Regions from separate parts of the Homo sapiens genome. Here region 1 is linked to region 2. Evidence: promoter capture Hi-C in 16 types of primary human blood cells and fetal thymus (Javierre and others, 2016). All regions are on one chromosome and are shown on one strand. The core of a region is centred on a gene start or on the middle of the fragment in contact, and the rest is flanking DNA. Distances in the headings are between cores, read along the strand shown.

Evidence for each region. The method cuts DNA at HindIII sites, captures the fragments that hold promoters and counts their contacts. A CHiCAGO score of 5 or more calls a contact.
Region 1: a fragment that was not itself captured here is called in contact with the fragment with the promoter of EPX in region 2 in 4 of 17 cell types (M2 macrophages, M0 macrophages, monocytes and 1 more); the score reaches 12.5 in M2 macrophages.

Annotation. Positions count from the first base shown.
Region 1 is chr17:58,435,395-58,440,419 of GRCh38, forward strand. The region is part of intron 5 of HSF5 (heat shock transcription factor 5); the gene reads right to left. Among named protein-coding and RNA genes, the nearest start is that of RNF43, 20 kb to the left of the region's middle. The HindIII fragment of the contact is 3,086 bases long and covers 747-3,832 here.
Region 2 is chr17:58,189,865-58,195,051 of GRCh38, forward strand. EPX (eosinophil peroxidase) reads left to right here and starts at 2,862. Exons shown (of 13, transcript NM_000502.6): 1 at 2,862-3,058; 2 at 3,174-3,267; 3 at 3,507-3,682; 4 at 3,850-3,967; 5 at 4,099-4,228; 6 at 5,100-5,187. The coding sequence starts at 2,983. The HindIII fragment of the contact is 9,173 bases long and covers 201-5,187 here.

The sequences.
Region 1 (5,025 bases), core at 1,040-3,539, 240 kb after region 2:
AAAAATCAGTTGTGTGGTGGCTCATGCCTGTAGTCTCAGCTATTTGGGAGGCTGAAGCACGAGAATCGCTTGAACCCAGGAGGCGGAGGTTGCAGTGAGTCGAGATCACGCCACTGCACTCCAGCCTAGGCAACAGAGTGAGATTCCAGCTCAATAAATAAACAAATAAATAAATAAATAGAGACTAGCCATCTGAAAAGTAACCAGTGGTAATAAACATAAGAACAGTAAATATTGGCTGGGCGCTGTGGCTCATGCCTGTAATCCCAGCACTTTGGGAGGCTGAGGCGAGCAGGAGATCGAGACCATCCTGGCTAACATGGTGAAACCCCATCTCTACTAAATATACAAAAAATTAGCCGGGCATGGTGGCGGGCGCCTGTAGTCCCAGCTACTCGGGAGGCTGAGGCAGGAGAATGGTGTGAACCTGGGAGGTGGAGCTTGTAGTGAGCCAAGATCACGCCACTGCACCGCAGCCTGGGCGACAGAGCGAGACTCCATCTCAAAAAAAAAAAAAAAAAAAAAGTAAATGTTATAAAAATAGCTAAAATTCTATTGCTACTATGTATGGACTACTTACTATGTAACCCAGCATAATACTAAGCCAGTTCTATGATTTATATCATTATAATCCATATTCCTCATTTTGCAGATGAGGACACCAAAGCTCAGTTAGGTAAACACGTCCAAGGTCACACAGTAAAGAGCAGAATCCAGGTTTTAATGCAGGTTTTTCTAACACCAAAAGCTTTCTTTCTAACCATATGCTGTACTGTTTTTAATGAGCAGTATATTAATCTCACACATTGACTTTGGTTAAGGTCTCTTAATGCCATGGGACCTTACATATAGCCATGTTTTCATAGACCAACTGCTAGGCCAAGGTCTATCAGAGCAGAATCATTTGCAACTTCATGAATTGTATTTCTGCCTACACTTTAATTAAAAAACTTTTTTTTTTTTTAGCAGAGAGGTTCTAGCTTAATCATAACTCATTTTCCTCTTGTCCATAATAAAATGAAAATGTGATTAGGTGTCATAATGATGCCAAGATTTCACAACTCTTATGTTTCACAGCAGGAAGCCAACATCAATTAAGACTCATCTATTAACTGCACTGACCAAAGGATAAGGCTTTACTTAGAAAAAAAAAACAACAGGAAGAGTTAATAAAGATAATTACTGTGCTAATTATTTTATCAGTTACACTTATAACCATAACATGTAGTGAAAGAGAGGAAATTATTTTTTTAACAGCAGGCACCAGAGTTCCTCTCAGGGAGGTAATTGTCTTTGTTGAGGAATATGTCTCGATAGATTGTTCTGGTTGGGAAAAATGACGCCTTAAAAACATCAAAAAATAGAAGAGATACCTAACCTTCTTTGCCTAAGTAAAACACAGGAATTCAGCACCTGGGGAAAGAGCAGAAAAAAAAAACCAACCATAACAACAACAACAACAGAAAGCAGAGAAACGAAGGTCTGGTGCTAGTACAAGGAAAGAAAGCAACATGGCAGAGGACCATATTGACTAGTGACAAGGAAAGATGCCGTAAAGTGACTGGGGGCCTTTTAATTCCATTTTTGCGGTATTCTAAATATTTCTGTCGGTATTTCTGCCTCCCGACATCTTCATAAAAGTGTGCTACACATACACATGCCTAGCATAATGCTTAAAGGGAGGAAGAGGTCAAAGAAAGTGGGCCAAGTTCTGCATCTGGTATAGCATGGAACAGACAGATAAGAACAGCCCTGGGAGGTCAGATATGGACAAGTCTGGAATTACATTTAAGCAGAAACTCAAAAATAAAAGCTACTGTGAACCCTAGAAAGTCTCAGAAATCTTAGAAAGGCATTCTTGGTATAGGGTAAGTTTATCTTGAGTCAATCATATCTAAACCTCAAAAGTCAGTTTACTATCTGGGATATAAATATTTTTTAAAAACACTCTGAAATTGTTCATTTCTATTACTTTAAGGCTTTTATATTCCTGCTATAGGAACACTTCAAGTATTTAAACTACTTTTAGTATTTTTAGATTTTTTAAAATTTGAAAAACATAGAAGAATACAGATGGTGAAAATTTCCCGTAATCCTATTATATATACATATACAAATTGAGAAGTTAAGCATACCCCTGCACCCATACATTCTATCTTCTGAGAGATAACTAGTGTTATATTTATCAGCTATATCGTATATCTCCAGACTTTTTTCTATAATTTTACAGCATATACTTTCTTTTCTTTCTTTCTAGAAAGGGGGTTGTGCTAGACATATTGTGTTGCAACTTACCCATTTGCTGAACACATTATGAACACTTACTGTCTTTCCAGGTCACAACACATCAAGCTACTTCAGTTTCTTAAATGGTTGCACAGTATTTTATTATGTAGATGTCATAATGTATCTGGTTCCCCACTGTCAGGCATTTATGCTTTTCTCAAATTTTTGCTATTATAAATAACACTATAGCAAACTTATTTTGAGTACCTTTGGGAATATACACATTTCTACAGGAGAGATTCCCAGGAGTAGAGTTCCTGAGTCAAAACTCATAAGCATTTTAGTTATCTATAAATAATGCCAATTGTCCTTTATAGGGCTATACGAATTTACATTCCAATTACAGCATAGAGAAGGTTCCTTTTCTCTATACCTTTATCAAAGCTGGATATTATCAACAGTTAAAGTTTTGCCAATCAAATTGCCAAAAAAAAAAATAATTGGTTGATTTTGGTCAGTGACAGACCATATAGATGATGATGATTCTGTAAGATTGTACTCTATTTTTACTGTACCATTTCTATGCTTAGCTATGTTTAGATACACAAATACCACTGTATTACAATTGCTTACAATATTCAATACAGTAACATGCTGTAAGGGTTTGTAGCCTAGAAGCAATAGGCTATACTATACAGCCTAGGTATGTAGTAGGCAACATCATCTAGGTTTGTGTAAGTACAATTCACAATGTTTATAAAACAATAACATTAACTAATGACATAGTTCTCAGAATACATTCCTGTCATTAAGGGATACATGATTATATGTGCTACTGGCTTTGCAGTCAGGCAGCACATGGTTAGGACACAGCAAGCTAGAATGTTGGTGATCTTTGTTATCCATGCCAACATATTTGGTAAAATCATTACCTGTGACACCATGGAAGTCAGACCACACATGCCAAGTGAACATACAACCATGGGGGAAAAGATTGACAAAAATCACAAGGTGTTGACTATTTCTTGACACATTCAGCAAAGCCCTAAAAGAAGAGATAAACTCAGGCTAGAGGTACCTAGTGTGCAAGCAGAGATGGAAGGGAATATTTGACTGCCTGTGGTTGACAACTTATTGACTAGAGTTCAGTAACTGGGTCATGAATCCAACTGCTTCAATACCCCAACCTGAAGTTGCACTAAGAAGTGCCTTAAGGCCAGGCATGGTGGCTGACACCTGTAATCCCAGCACTTTGGGAGGCTAAGTTGGGAGGATTGCTTGAGACCAGGAGTTGGAGATCAGCCTGGGCAACACAGTGAGACTCCATCTCTTTGAAAAGTAAAAAAAAATCAGCTAGGTGTGGTGGCATGTGCCTGTAGTCCCAGCTACTTCTTTGGGGGGTTGGGGGTAGGTTGGTTGAGGTGGGAGGATCACTTTAGCCCAGAGATCAAGGCTGCAGTGAGCTATGATCGTGCCAGACTAGGCAACAGAGTGAGACCCTGCCTCAAAAAAAAAATAATAATAAATAAAAAAAATTGGTGGTACATGCTGATTAACATTAAGCTAAGCCCAACAGTTGACAAATCTTGTCAACAGAGCTTCTGTAAGCTTTTTAATGCTCCATTCTTGAATAGGGAAGAAAGCCAATGGAAAAAAAAAACAAAAACAACAACAACCAAAAAAAAAAACCAGAAAGAACGTAGAGGAAACTGACATATGTTGTGGGGAAACAACTTCAAAACCAGCCCTTCCATTTAGTATCCTCAGAGAGCTATAAGAAGATATTATATCCATATAAAAGAACAGCAAGTTCCCCCAAAAAGGAACAATTATAGAATAGAATAAAAAAGAGCTGTTAGAAGTTATAATTTTTTTTTTTTTGAGACGGAGTTTTGCTCTTGTTGCCCAGGCTAAAGTGCAATAGCGCGATCTCGGCTCACTGCAACCTCCACCTCCCGGGTTCAAGCAATTCTCCTGCCTTAGCCTCCTGAGTAGCTGGCATTACAAGCATGCGCCACCATGCCCAGCTAATTCTGTATTTTCAGTAGAGACGGGGTTTCACCATGTTGGTCAGGCTGGTCTGGAACTCCCAACCTCAGGTGATCCGCCCGCCTTGGCCTCCCAAAGTGCTGGGATTACAGGCATGAGCCACCATGCCCAACTGGAAATTATAAATTTAGTAGCCAAATTTTTAAAATTAAACATTTGAAAGTTTCATCTGAGGAACATTCCACAAAATAGAAAAAAGATAAAAGTATAACAAAATTGAAAGAAAAAAACAGAGAGAGAAGTTCATCTCAGCATATCCAATACTGGACTAAAGAAAAAATAGGAAAAATGGAAGGGTAAAGAGGTAAGAATTTTTTTTTTTAATGATATGACCACTTCTGGTAATGTCAGGCCTGATAATTAAGACCAGCTTTCCTATTGAAGACAACTAAAAAACCTGGACAGATGATAGAAACAATATTCTTTAAAAGTCTCAAAAGGTAATGAGATAGTAAAGAATGACTGGGCTGAGTGTCAGGTGAGAGTGGGGATCCAGAGAGTAAGCCTTGTATTTGAGGCTACTTTTACCTTTGTGACATTTGCCATCTGTAGGAGATTGAGAGGCTGAGCTTTGCCTTTTGGGTCTAGAGGGACAAATGTCAGAGACTGGGCTTGTCAAAGGTTGAGTTCTGATGAGATTCCCACTTTTATGGCTAGGATCTCAATAAGCTGCACCCAGGAGAGGATGAACCACAGGGAAACAAGCCCTTGCACAGTTTGTGGTCAGAAAAATCTCAGGCTCTGAACTGG
Region 2 (5,187 bases), core at 1,612-4,111:
GTGAGGAGGTGGGCTCAGAGGTTGAGGAGCCTGCCCAAGTGGATGACGGTGCTAGAATGGGGACCAAGTTCAGCTTGTAGCCACCTCCCTGTACTGCTCTCAAGGAGCTCCCGCCTGCTAAGTGCTGTGGCTATGGCACCAAGCCCAGCTTGTGGGGTGACTCAGAAATGGCTTCCCAGAGGGACCTGCTAGGAAGAGGAAGCTTCCGGCAGAATTAGGAGCTGCTTGGAAGGAGAGAAAAGGTGGGGGTTATATGTGGAAGGTTAGGATGATTGGAGCCTAGGGGCAGGGTCCTGTGGGGGAAACGTGGCAGAAAGTAGGCTAAGGAGACATCCAGAGCCAGAGTCCAGGAGAGCCAGGCAGCAGGCTCTCATCACCACCCCGAGCAACCAATAGGTCCAAATCCCCAAGAGATCAGCCACCATGGCAGGGCTGGGCTTAGAGCCTAGGTTTCTGTCTCAGGCTTGTCCCAATAACCCACGGCAGCCCATGGCTGTGGAGAAACCCTTGCACTGCTCACTATTGTTGAAGAACTAGAGTACCCTCTGCAGGGAGAGCAGAGCTCACTCTGAGTGCTGGGGACCCTGGAAGTACAGCAATCCAGGATACATGCACCCCATCCTGGCTCCAACCTGGGTTACATACACCCCACCCCAACTCCAACCTGGAGTATATGCATCCCATCCCAGCTCCAACCTGCGGTACATACATCCCACTCCAATTCTATCCTGGGTTACATACACCATACCCCAGCTCCAACCTGGAGTACATACATCCCACCCCAACTCCAACCAGGGGTACATACGCCCCACCCCGACTCCTACCTGGGGTATATACACCCCACTCCAACTCCAACCTGGGGTACATACATCCCACCCCAATTCTATCCTGGGTTACATACACCCCACCCCAACTCCAACCTGGGGTACATGCACCCCACCCTGCCTCCAACCTAGGGTACATACAGCCCACCCCAACTCCAACCTGGGTTACATACACCCTACTCTGGCTCCAAGCTATGGTACATACACCCCACCCTGGCTCCAACCTAGGGTACATACACCCTACTCCAACTCCAACCTGGGTTATATACACCCCACCCTGGCTCCAAGCTGTGGTACATACACCCCATCCAGCTCCAACCTGGGGTACATGCATTCCACCTGGCTCCACCCGGGGAGCACCTGGCTCCCTGAGGGCCGGGAGGTGACACACAGCTGAGGAGTGCTGTGTGATTTATATAATCTCTCTCCTCCATGAGGCTCCCTGTCCCCATCTCACAGGTTTGGAAACAGGTCCATGGAGGGGTGTGATTTACCCAGTCACTCAGTGGGTCAGCATCAAGGAACCCAGTGTGCTTTCAGCTCCTACACAGTGACTTCTACCCAGGCCCCCCGTCACAGGAGAGGGGCCTCCGCTAAAGATAAGGAGATAAGATTAGGAGGGCTCAGGCCATCAACTGGAGCTTGTGAAAGGGGTTGCCGAAGAGAGGTGGTTGTTTCAAGAGCAACGGTTGGGCTGGTAACATTGCTGTGGGAGGAGGAGGCTGTGGAAGGCACCGGGCAGGGTTTCGGTAGGGTGTGGGGGTGGGGGAGGAGAAAGGACACTTGGAACAGCCTCCCTGGGAGTCTGGAGCAGGCACGGGGTCCACACTGAAGAAGGAATGGACGTGTCCTCCTGAAGAAGGGGCGAGGACACGCAGGCTGCTGGCCACAGTGGTGGTGACTCTGGAACTGTCTCAGGGATGAGCATGTGCTCTCCAGGCAGCCGGGATGAGGTCAGAGGCAAAGGATGAACCTGGCTCATCCAGGGCAGGGAACTACAGGAGGAAGGCTTAGGTGCAGAGAGGGTGGGCCCTGGCAGAAGGCCGACTGGGATGCACTCTGCACTTAAGGTGGAAATGGAGGCGCACTTAAGGTGGAAATGGAGGCTCACCCAAGGTCACGAAGCTAGTGACAGGGCTGGATTCAATCCAGGCCAATCAGACCCTGGTGCAGCACACTGCCTCTAAAGAAGCTACTTCTCACCAAGCCCAATAGGAACTCATAATTGAAATCTACTTCTCAGAGTAAACCTACTACTGATTGGCACCTAAGAAACTCCAAGAGAATAAAGCCCATGGCGGGCGCTTACTTTTAGGCTCTGCAGCAGCTCACTGGGCTGGGTGTTTTACCTGTGACATCTCGCCATGTCCCCAAAATGGCCCCATGAGGGATTTCACTGCCAGGCCCTGCCTCAGTCACAGCCTCACACTCTCCCTGGCACCTTGGAGGGAGTGAGTAGGGCTAGGGGATAAGGAGAGGGGCCAAATCATTCATCACAGATCATTCATTCACTCAACAAACACCTGCTAAGCACATACTAAATGCTGGGCTTTGAGCTGGGTATGGGGGGTGTGTATAACAGTAAGGCAGATTCAGTTTCTGCCCTGTTGCAGGAGGAGAGGCACCCTTCCAATCATCTGGCCCAACTCTCATTCTAGGGATGTGAAAACTGAGGCCTGGAGAGGGAAAGTGGCTTGCCCAAGGCCATGCAGCCAGGCGGTGGCGACTGAGGTGCACCGCTCCTGTCAGCCAACAAATATCCATTGAGCGACACCTGTGTCCCAGGTGCTGCTCTGGGCCCTGGGAGAAGTGCATCAGTGGGCTTGGTAGTAGAGGGTAGGGATGGAGTGAAGGGTAGGCAGGAAGAATGTCCCCAGGCTGGTAGGAGGTGGGGTGGGGGGTTTCAGTCTCAAAACTCCCATGAAAACCAGAGAGAAGTTTCAGAACTCCACCCAAGAGGCTGGGTTTCTAGGGCCCAGAGCTGCCCTCCCCCACCCTAGAATGGGCTATAAAAGTCCCTTCCCAGCTACGTCCAGAGAAGAGCTGGAGGAAGTGAGAGGTCGGCTGGGGGTCCTCAAAGTGAGAGGGGAGCAGAGGATCCTCCCGTGCAGGCTGTGGATGTCACTCACTTCCCAGCTGGTGAAGCCTCGCTGCAGAGATGCATCTGCTCCCAGCCCTGGCAGGGGTCCTGGCCACACTCGTCCTCGCCCAGCCCTGTGAGGGCACTGACCCAGGTAATAGTCCCCTAGACAGGCAAGGAGGAGGGAGGGGAAATGGAAGGGGAAGCACTTGGGTCTTGGAGGGGGTCTTGTGGCTTGCTGAACCCTGAGTCCCCATCTCTTTGAACAGCCTCCCCTGGGGCAGTGGAGACCTCGGTCCTGCGAGACTGCATAGCAGAGGCCAAGTTGCTGGTGGATGCTGCCTACAATTGGACCCAGAAGAGGTGGACTTGGGTCTGGGGGCTGCATGGGCCTGGGAGGATCAGTGAGGGGCATGGGCCCCAGCCAAGTTCATCTCACTCATCAGCCACCTCTGGACCCCATGAACATTTCCTGTTGGTAGAGCCTCCCTTCCATCCATCCTTCTGTCCGCTTGCCCTGTCCTGACTGTGCCCCAGGACTGGGTCTCTGCTGGGTGGGTCTGCACCCTCTCTCCAGCCCTCACTCCTCCTCTCCTGGGCAGCATCAAGCAGCGGCTTCGCAGCGGTTCAGCCAGCCCCATGGACCTCCTGTCCTACTTCAAACAACCGGTAGCAGCCACCAGGACAGTTGTTCGGGCCGCAGATTATATGCATGTGGCTTTGGGGCTGCTTGAAGAGAAGTTACAACCCCAGCGGTCCGGACCCTTCAATGTCACTGGTACTCTGATCCCCACTGAGCCCGCTGGGCCTACCCTGGCCTGGAGTAGAAGGAATCCAGGAGAGGGAGGCAGGGTGCACAGGTTTGGGGTGCTGGGAGGAGAGAGGGTAAAGGGATGGGAGGTACAGAGCAGGCCAGCTCAGGTCTGCCCATTTGCCTTCCCACAGATGTGCTAACAGAACCACAGCTGCGGCTGCTGTCCCAGGCCAGTGGCTGTGCTCTCCGGGACCAGGCCGAGCGCTGCAGCGACAAGTACCGCACCATCACTGGACGGTGCAACAACAAGTGCGTGCGGGGCGGCAGGAGGGGCTGCCCCTGCCTGGGGGACCTCTCCCTTCCTGCACCCACCCTCTCCCTCCATGCTGAGCCATCTCCAGGCCCTGCCCCCTGCTAACCTATCCCACCCATGGCTGCAGGAGGAGACCCTTGCTAGGGGCCTCCAACCAGGCTCTGGCTCGCTGGCTGCCCGCCGAGTATGAGGATGGGCTGTCGCTCCCCTTCGGCTGGACCCCCAGCAGGAGGCGCAATGGCTTCCTTCTCCCTCTTGTGAGTTGGGGCTGAGGGTTTGGGAGGTTGCTTGATCTCTTAAATGCGGGGAGTAAAACACAGCCCAGAGTCACGCAGGCAGGGCTTGAACCCAGGCCCTTCCACTGACCAGTGCAGTGACTTGAGGCAAATAACACAGCTTTCTGAGGCTTAGTTTCCTCATCTGTAAAATGGCCCTAAAACCTACCTCGTAGAGCCTGTGTGGATATTGAAGTCCTTGGTATAAATAGCTATAGAGGACATGATCTATTCATGCTAACCATTACGGTGTTGTACGGTTTTTTCTGAGAAAATTAGTGTCAAAGTCTTGCTAAATATAAACAGCTCTATACCTTAATCTGGCTTTATCTATTGATCTATTTCACATTTATCAACTCATCAGTTTTCTATTGATATATCGATAGAGCAGTCTATCATCTACCCATCTATCAACATCTATTAATTAATTTTCTTCTATCCACCCTTCCATCTGCTGACCCCGTACTCCCTACGTGTATTATCCATCACCTGGCAACCAGCCCATGCACCTGTGAATCCGTGCTATCATCTGGTTAGCTATCAGTGTACAAATTGATCTATCTATTTGATCTCCCTTCCCCTCTGGGAGAGCTGGTGAGGTCTGAGCCAGTCAACCTAGCCCCTCTCCTTCTCTTTACCACCGGAATCCTCAGGAGCCCAGCCAGAAACCATCCTTCTAGGAATGAGAGCAGGAGGTGGCTACGCCTCCAGGGACAAAAGGGGCATGGAGGGCAGAAGAGGAGAGGCTGTCAATTCCAGCAGGGGAGCTGCTGCTCCCTGAGTCCTGGGTTGGCTCTAATACCTTGTGGGGTCAGGGAGCCCATGTCCCGTGCTGATGTTATTTCCCCACCAGGTCCGGGCTGTCTCCAACCAGATTGTGCGCTTCCCCAATGAGAGACTGACCTCCGACCGTGGCCGAGCCCTCATGTTCATGCAGTGGG